2 separate regions of the Homo sapiens genome follow, and region 1 is linked to region 2. Evidence: promoter capture Hi-C in human tissues and cell types (Jung and others, 2019). All regions are on one chromosome and are shown on one strand. The core of a region is centred on a gene start or on the middle of the fragment in contact, and the rest is flanking DNA. Distances in the headings are between cores, read along the strand shown.

Region 1 (4,561 bases), core at 64-2,563, 170 kb before region 2:
TTCACCAATTAGCCTTTTTCTGCATCCTGACAAAATGGAATTTGCCTCTAAATTGTTTCTCAACCCACATACTTCCTCAGTGAGAATCAATGTAAGAAGCTACCATCCCTTACCAATGTATGAAACAAGGCCCTGAATATAAGACCTTAACCATCTGCATTTATTCAACTCCTACTGATTGAGTAATTGAGAAGGCTTGGCAGATTCTAATCTGGTCACACTAGATTCTAGTTCTGCCTCTTGAAACCATAGAAGGAATAGAATACATAATTCTTCATTCCCTGTCTTCAAGTTCTGGGAAGCCTCTCAGGGTTAAACAGCTGCCGCATTCCACCTCTAATATAGACACGTAGTGGAAGGTAAAATGATCCCAATAGTGAGTTTGTGCTTGAGCACAGAGAAAATTTTAAAGTGCTTTGAGATCTTTCAGGGTAGAAATATACATAGTTCCTAATTTAAAAACATGGGTTTCGTTGAATTTGAAGCTTAAACATTCTTCTAAATGGCCACACCTGTCAGCTAAATGAAATGGAGAGGGAAAAAGACAGAAACAGATTCAACAAAGCATTAGATACCAAAAAGACATGTTCAGTTGATTAAAGCTTTTTTTAGTCAGCTTGCTTTGATGTTGCCTAGACATATCTATTCTAGAAGAAAGGGGAAATTCACCTTCTCTGAGGTCTGCTAACATCCTTTAGGACTTGACAAGGTAATGGGGATGAGACAGCAGTGTCTCACCCAAAGGGACAATTGATAAATAATCTTCAAAGGGAGAATGCTTGGAAGCAAAATTGTCTTACGTTTGTAAGATGTCCATGTTGGATATCACGAAATAAATAAGAATACGTGAGATAGCTTCTCCATAATGCTTCCCATTGTTTGATGCACCCAATATGGTTTTTTAAATATCTAGGAATACTTACATATCTTAGGAATTACAATGAGACATTATTCAGTAAGCCTATGAAAAGCAAAATTAATTTTTAAGTTTAGATGCCATAAAAGGGCACTTTGGTCTGCCTCAATAATTCTGATCATTAGCCAGATAAGACCTGCTGGCTACACTGTACTGCTGAAAAAAAAAATTACAAGAAAATGTAGAGTCTTCTCTCTAGTGTAACTCAGATAAAATGCTTAGGTTTTTATTAATCATTAGAAATAAATCTCTATTTGGAGATTCAGAATAGTAGCATCAAAAGTTATATTATAAAAACGCATAAATGCTACCTAAGACCAACTTTTAGGTTACCTGGAGGCCTCTCAAAACAATACTACAGGAGTCGTGGGTCTAAAGGAGAGCATACATAATAAAAAACATAGTAAAAAAGGATCTGCTCTGGACCTCACCTTGTTTATAACCTTATGTGGATCACTTCACTTAAATCAAATTATCTCTGCATGAACATCGAGGTGTAAATGTTTATACTAAGTATGAGTATTCTTCCTACAACAGGTGATTTGGCCAAAAATGCCCTCTGGTCCCAAGTTATATATTTTGATTGTGTGGACATCCATTCTCACATTTTAAGGGAATAACACAACTCAACACCCAGAAAGGTATAAAGATAACTGCTTTATGATTGTTTGAGGTTGGAGTATATATCAACATCTTATTTTTTTAAGTTTACCTCAAGATTAAACTCTGCCTTTTTAAAAACTTTGCCTTTTTAAAAACAAATCTTTTCCTTATGGTTCCAGCTTCAAGTGTTTATTAGATCACACAGACATCTGTCAATAGAAAGAATTACTCTTTTCCCATAAAGGAAGATAAGGAAAGACCTCTCTGGAAATTGTGAAATTTCTAGAGGATGAGGCACCTACTTCTGCAAAGATTATCTGAGATTTAGAAATTTGTGCAAAAAATTACAGATTCAATGCTATTCCTATCAAACTACCAACATCATTCTTTACAGAATTAGAAAAAAAATTCTAAAATTCATATGGGACCAAAAGGGAGCCTGAATAGCCAAAGAAGTCCTAAGCACCACACTACCTGAATTCAAACTATACTATAGAGCCACAATAACCAAAACAGCTTGGTACTGGTACAAAAACAGACAAATAGACCAATGGAACAGAATAGAAAAATCAGAAGTAAAGCCACATACCTACAACCATCTGATCATCCATAAGGCTGACAAAAACAAGCAATGGGGAAAGGACTCCTTATCAATAAATGGTGCTCGGAAAACTATTAATAGCTCGGCATATCCAGAAGATTGAAACCAGACTCCTACCTCTTACCATATATAAAAACTAACTCAAACTAAATTAAATATTTAAATGTAAGATCTCAAACTATAAAAATACTGGAAGGCAACCTAGGAAATACTCTTCTCAACATCAGCCTTGGTGAAGAATTTTTGCCTAAGTCCCCAAAAGCAATTGCAACAAAAACAAAAATAGACAAGTGGGGCCTAATTAAACTAAAGAGCTTCTGCACAGCAAAAGAAACTATGAACAGAGCAAACAGACAGAACAGGAGAAGATATTTGCAAATTATGCATCCAACAAAGGCCTAATACCCAGAATGTATAGACAACTTAAACAAATCAATGAGCAAAAAACAAATAACCCAATGAAAATATGGGCAAAAGAGTCCAGGTGCAATGGCTCACACCTGTAATCCCAGCACTTTGGGAGGCTGAGGCGGATGGATCACGAGGTCAGGAGATGGAGACCATCCTGGCTAACACAGTGAAACCCTGTCTCTACTAAAAAATACAAAAAAATACAAAAAAAATCAGCCGGACATGGTGGTGGGGGCCTGTAGTCCCAGCTACTCGGGAGGCTGAGGCAGGAGAATGATGTGAACCTGAGAGGCAGAGCTTGCAGTGAGCCAAGATCGCGCCACTGCACTCCAGCCTGGGCGACAGAGTGAGACTCCATCTCAAAAACAACAACAACAAAAAAAAAAGGCAAAAGACATGAACAGACACTTCTCAAAAGAAAGCGTACATGTGGCCAACAAACATATGAAAAAAATGCTCAGCATCATTAATCATGAGGGAAATGCAAATCAAAATCACAATAAGATACCATCTCCCACCAGTCAAAATGGCATTATTAAGAAGTCAAAAAATAACAGACTTTGGCAAACCTGCAGAAAAAAGGAAGTACTTATACATTGTTGATGGGAATGTAACTTAGTCCAGCCACCGTGGAAAGCAATCTGAAGAAGATTTCTCAAAGAACTTGAAACAGAGCTACCATTCAACCCAACAATCCCATTACTAGGTATATACCCAAAAGAAAATAAATCATTCTACCAAAAAGACACATGCACTCATATGTTCACTGCTGCACTATTCGCAATAGCAAAGACATGTATTCAACCCAGGTGCCTATCAATGGTAGATTGAATAAAGAAAATATGGTACATGTACACCATGGAATACTATGCAGCCATAAAACAATGAAATCACGTCCTTTGCAGCAACATGGATGGAGCTGGAGGCCATAATCCTAAACAACACAGGAACAAAAGCCAAGCATCACATGTTCTCAGTTATAAGTCAGAGCTAAACATTGAGCACACATGAACAGAAATATGAGAACAATAGACACCGTGGACTACTGCGTGGGAGATTAAAAAAAAACTACCTACGAGGTACTATGCGCACCACCTGGGTGATGGGATCTGCACTCCAAACTTCAGCATCATGCGATATTTCCATGTGACAAATCTGCAGTTGTAATTTGAAAGTTGGTATTTTAAAAGAGGCATACTGTACTTCTTAGAGCAACCAATAAAAATTAGTAAAAAATATTTTTTAAAAAGAAATTTATACAGAGAATTTGCCTCAATTTTTTTTCAATTGAAAGCCATGTCTTCCTGGTAAAAAGAGAGATGCTAGCAGCAAGAGCAACTAGGGTTAATTCTGACTCCAGAGGGATTTCTGGTCTACACTGATAGGTTGGCCATTAGCATTGCTCAGATTCTTATATAAATTGTATAGACTCCCACAGGATGGACATAAACCACATTTAGGTAGAAACTAAATCATTGACAGAGAGTTTCAACAAAACACTAACTGGATAACCTTTTCTTTCTGATGCTATAGCCAGGAGGACATGTGAAAGGATTGAATCACAAGGGAAAAAGTTTCTAACTATGAGCACAGAATGTTCTTCATAACATTTGGCTGTGCAAATATGTATAAAATCCTCCCACTTCTTTAGAAAATAACATTTGAATTAACAAAACAGCTCTTCATTGAAAGAGAAACCTTTCAGCATTTCTGAATATGTGTAAGTTTGTACAACAGCTAGTTGGAAAATACATAACTGGAAATGTGCGAATGTAATTCATGGAATCCATGATGTTTTGATAGAGACTATTTTAAAACTGATATTTGTACAATCTGGAAGAAAATGAGGATTTTTAAATGGTCTCAATTAGTAAATCAGCTGTATAGAAAAATTAGGTTTGCATAGGGCAGCGATCAGCATAAACGAGAACGAAGCATGAAAGCAGATCACTAGATTATGCAAAACCAGCACCTGAAACTGGAGGATCTATTGGACATTCCACACTCTCCACTTCTGGTTAAAGAAATCA
Region 2 (5,129 bases), core at 2,630-5,129:
CCGAGCGCAGATGGCGCCGCCGAGCGCCTGAAATATACTTGCAAGGCCGCAGCAATATACTTGCAAGGCCGCAGCCGGAGCAGCTGTTCCAGCCGATCCTAGCTCGAAAGTTCCTCTGTTGCTCTGGGAGAGGGCGGGGGAGAGCAGGCTCGAGAGCCAGGCTCCTCCGAGGCTGGTCTTGAGGCACTTCTCTAGTAGCTTCTCCAAAAGACTGAGAGTGCCGGCGTAGGTATGACAGTGAGGGTACCTCACAGACCCTTCTCCAAAGTCTGGCGGGCCTTGGGGTTTTTCGGGGCCACCAGGCTCGGTGGAATTTTTGAAACGCTTTCGAAATACATAGTTTCCTCTGTGGAGTGAGTGCCTACAACGCGCAGGCCGGACTGATCCCCCGTTGCTGCAGGTTGGTGCCCCAAGCTGCGGGTGCTCGGGCGCCAACTAAAGCCAGCTCTGTCCAGACGCGGAAAGAAAAATGGGCTGTGAAAAAGCAAAAGGCCTCGTCTTTGAATGAAAGTTAAACATTAAAATCTGACCCTAGAGTTGTCTAAAGATCGCGGAATTTTGAAGCTCCGGCAGAGCGGACTAAAAAACGGTGCTATGAGAGATGGTGAGAATACTCTAGGCATGAACGTGTGCGTGTGTGTTTGTGTGTGTGTGTGTGTTTCATTCTTCCCGCAAAACAATTTTTTGTTTTTTTCCTATTCCCGGTTTGTTATCGGCCTAGGGCGGGAGAACCACGCAGCGGCTTCTGGGCCCTAAGGACAAAAGAGTTAAAACAATGAGGCTCACCCGGGAAGAGACGCTGCCCTGGGCACAATAGGGTCGCCTGCATTACTCCTCCATACACACATCTTTAAATGTGTCCCTGTGTGTGTTCGTTAGGGTGCTGTATTACAGAAAAAGAAAGGCCTAAAAACACCCCCAGCCCTGGTCGCGCCTTTCGCTACCGCCTGAGTCTGGAGCCGACAGCTCCACCTCTTCTGCTCCCTGGACCGCCGCGTCTCCACGCCACGGCGCCCTTTTTACTAAAAGATCTTTTCTCATCCTATCAGCAAATCGTTAAGAAAGGCTTAGCCATTGCGGGGGCTCCAACTTAAGGATTCCCCCGGCCCACTAAAAGGCTAGGCCCGGCCTGTAGCCCAGCTCCGCAGAAAGCCAGAGGGTGCTGGGCTTTCAGCTTCTTCCTCCTAGACACTTGCCCCACAAATATATTTCGTTTTCTCTAATCCAAATACCCATCTTTTTCTTTTTTAAAAAATGATAACGTAATGGGAAATGACCAACCGAACTCTGTTACATAAAGTTAGTTCTGTTAGATCTTCCACCCCACCCCCATCCCGCGGGAGCGAGTAAATAGAATTCATGAGCTTAGCTCCCCAGGTTCACGCTCTGGAATGGTTTCTTTTTGCCTCATTCCCTAAGTTTTCTCTCTTCTGCCTCCTGAATGGAGCTCAGGCTAAGGAGAACGGCAGAAAGAGCAAACTCTGATCTGAATCTCTAATTATGACCCCATGTATTACCCATTTGAACATAAGGCCCTAGACGGGCTCCGTGCGATCTGGGGCCTCCCAAGAGAAAACTTCCCCGGGACAGGACGTCTGCCACGCGCAGCTAAACAACTTCTGTTTTTTCCGCCGTGGGGAAAATAAAAGAACCTTACAAATTCTAAGGCGTCATAACCCCTGCAAGAACTTCTAACTGTATGAAGGCCCACGCGAGATTTTGACAATAGATAAATGAGCTGAGGAAATAGGGTCTGGCCAGCGAAGGGAAACACACAGTAGCCCTGGGTGCCTTTCTGGAATGCCCACGCAGGGGTCCGCGTGGACAAGCACTTGCATTCAAATACAGGAAAAGGCTTGGACGGTCGAAATAAATCTCCTTTTAATTTTCTTTTCATCGACTAATAAAAATAATTCCCCAGCACTAAACTCAAATACCGTAACGGGCCACAAAAACACGGAGAATTCATAAAACTCTATCTCTGCAGGTCACCCGCTAATCGCATTATTATTAGCCTCGGGAGCATGGAAATTGAACTGTCACTGCCTAAAGAGAAAATGTAAGCGACAGCTGTCCCTCCTCTGAGTTGGACAGCTTTGTGGCTGAGATCCCCAAGCTCCTGAGCCCCAGACCGTCTCTATCCCAGTGCAGGCCGCTGCCCCCTCCCCGGGCTTGTCAGCGTGTGAAGCGGGGTCTACTCCCCAGCTCTGGCTGTTCAGCAGGAGCACCTTCCAGCATGGTTTTAGAAGTCCGGGCTGGAAAGCTTCTGAAACCGCTAAACCAAGTTGCGAGCGTTGTATGTGCGCGCGCGCACACTCAAGATTCTTCCGACAACAGCTGTTCCCCCGGGCTGTTTTTGCACAGTTGAAATCTTGGCACTTAACACAAAACGTTAAAGTTGGCTTCTCCCCTCCTAGGGTTCTGTTAAAATACAGACATGACATCCCCCCTGCTTTTTACATGTTCCGTGCACATAATATACATGGGTTACTGTAGGATCTGAGACACAAATCAATCGTACCCACACCCTAAATACACAGAGATGTGGGCCCTGAAGAGTGACCCAAGGAGTAAGGGGTCTAACATCCATTCTTGTTTCCGTAAACGCCAAAGGAGTAGAAATATAATTATGTTCCACCATCGAAAAGTTGGTGGGAGAAAGGCAAGGACGAGGTTGAAGGCTAAATGAGACAACTGGTCATTCCCCGAAGACTGAGGTATTGGATTGGAGAACGCCGCGCCAGTCCTCCCGAGTTCTCAGAAGCGAGTCCTAGATCTCGGCTCCCGCCGTTGCCTTCGGCCCGCGCCCCTCCCAATCCCAGGGACCGGCAGCCCTTCATCCACGGACACCCAGAAAGCTGCGCTCTCCACCCAAAAGAAAAAGAAATGCAAACAAACAGGACTCCTTGCTTAGGCTGGCGACGAAAATGCAAGGCTCAGTCCAGCCCCAAAAATTGGTTCCGGTGAATTTAGGGAGGCTCAGGGCATTTGCGCGAAGAAACAGAAACCTATGTTGGGGCAAGGCAGGGCGTCAATGGCAGGGCCTAGCTCCTCACCCGCGACCGGCGACTGGCCCTTCGGCGTCCCCTCTCCGCCCGCCTCCCGCGGTCGGCTGCGACGCACTCACCCGGGTGAGGCTCCAGGCCGTGTGCCGCCGCGTCCTCCGTGTCTCCGAGTGGGCCCGCGGGGCTCAGCGCCTCCATAGACAGGTCCAGCCCCTTCTCCTCCCAGTCTCGCAGTTTCCGTTTTTTATTTGAGCCGATCAAGGCTTCAACGGAGAAGGCATGTGCTCGCGAGCTCAGGGCGACTGCAGATCTTCTCCTTTCACTCATTTTAGCCGCCCACACCCCTGCCTCCGCTTGCCCCCGCTACCGAGGGAGCAGCCGGCGCCCTCAAGCTCTGAGCGCCCACCGGGCCCGGCCCGGGAGAGGCGGAGGCGCGTCGGACGAGGCTGAGACTGCGGCTCGCGGGTCTCTCCACCCTCCCCCTGCGTCCTCCTCCGCCCTCCTCTGCCGGATCCGACCTGCGCCCCTACGCTGGCCCAGCTGCTAGGAACTAGCGCCCCGAGCGCCGCCCGCTCGCTGCATGAGCGCCCGAGTCCTGCTTCCCACCCACCGGGGCAGGCGCTCACAGACTGTGTCCACTGAACTTCATCTTGTTTTTGTTATTATTATTATTCTCTCTCCTCTCTCTCTCTCTCTCTCTCTCCCCTCCCTCTCTTTTTCTCTCCTCCCCCTCTCTCTCTCTTCCTCTCTGCCTTCCCGTCCTCCCTGTGATCCAAACTTCTGGGAAACTTTTTTTTCCGCTAAATTCCTCCCTTCCCGAGGAACAGGGGGCAGGCGGTGCGCTCCTGTCCGAGGGGTGAGGGAGAGGGAGGGGGAGGAAGAAAAAGACTGAGGGGGAAAAAAGCCAGCCCCCAACCAATAGCGAGGAGGGAACAAGAGAAACTCCGAGAGCGCGAACCAATGAGAGGAAGGGAGAGACTGAGGCCCGGGCCAAAGCGCAGCGCCAGTCGTCCCCTGGATGCTCCTGGGCCGACTTTAACCCCTGGCTTCCCGGTTTCCCCATGGGTTACTCCAAGAGGGAGGTAGGACAGTTGAAAGTTGAGGTCTGATCTGCGCCTTTACAAACTCCTGCAAATCCCAAATCCATACGTTTTTCTTCCAGATCTGCTGGTCTCATAGACGCTGCAAGTCCAGAGTCACTTTAGTTGCAGATCTGGAATTTTGGGGCTCTGACAAAATGTTAACCTGTCCAAAATGCCAGAAAACGATTCTGATAATTTCGCGTCAGCCCCTAGGTGCTTTAGAATATTCTGGTTCCTCCTGGATTTCGCCACACAGGTTTTAATGTTCCTACTGAACGTTTTCTAAGCAAATCTGGGTAAGGCAAAAGGAAACAAACAAACAAGCAAACAGAAAGCCCTGTTACTAACCAGGGTCTTGTAACTGAAAATTCAAAGACCGCTTCCTCCTTCCAGCTCTACCTGGTGGAGAAGGAGACACAGGCGCCTTGAGAGCAAGGGGCGGGCGGCGGAGCGCGGGGTTTAGGGCGAGCTCCTCAGGCGTATTCCAGCTGGGCCCCCTCACGCCGCAAATACTCTCTTTCCCTACGGCCCGAACGCTGGGCTGCGCTTCGCCTGTTCCGGGCTCTTGTTGCAGAGAACCTATGGAGAGGTGACAGGCAAGAACAGCTAGGAACTTTAACAGAAGAGAAGGAGCTTTTTCAAAATTCCCTGCAAATCCCGTTACCTCAAGACCATGGCTTTCCCGGCCAGCTGATCTCCCCCCTGGCCGCCCCCTGCCTTTTGCGATCTCTAAGGACTGCATTCAACATGGATTTCTAAGGAATTAAAAAATCCAACGCTCCTGGCCATTCTTAATTCCCACACCTCTTCCCAAGTTACGCCACCGGTCGAGGACGGCAGGAGACCCCCGAGTGCAGAGAAAGCTCAAACCGGCAGCGAAGTCGGTCCTAGCCAAGCTGAAAAAACGTCTCGGATTTCGCGGACAGCGGCCTAGACACAGCCCGATCTTCCAGTCCTAGTGCCCTGGTCGAGACGGTTCTATCCTTTTGCAAAGAAGCCGGAAAGAGCTGGGTCCCGGGGGCGGGGGACAGACTGAGAGGCC

The links. Contacts are between HindIII fragments. The study calls those that stand out against the background at their distance.
Region 1: a fragment that was not itself captured here is called in contact with the fragment with the promoter of TBX15 in region 2 in 2 of the 25 tissues and cell types used here (bladder and thymus).

The regions. Positions count from the first base shown.
Region 1 is chr1:118,816,942-118,821,502 of GRCh38, forward strand. The region is part of intron 1 of LOC107985447 (a long non-coding RNA gene); the gene reads right to left. Among named protein-coding and RNA genes, the nearest start is that of TBX15, 170 kb to the right of the region's middle. The HindIII fragment of the contact is 7,268 bases long and covers 1-4,561 here.
Region 2 is chr1:118,984,464-118,989,592 of GRCh38, forward strand. TBX15 (T-box transcription factor 15) reads right to left here and starts at 3,880. Exons shown (of 8, transcript NM_001330677.2): 1 at 3,128-3,880. The coding sequence starts at 3,332. RefSeq lists enhancers at 750-1,427, 2,747-3,280, 3,281-3,813. The HindIII fragment of the contact is 7,773 bases long and covers 1-5,129 here.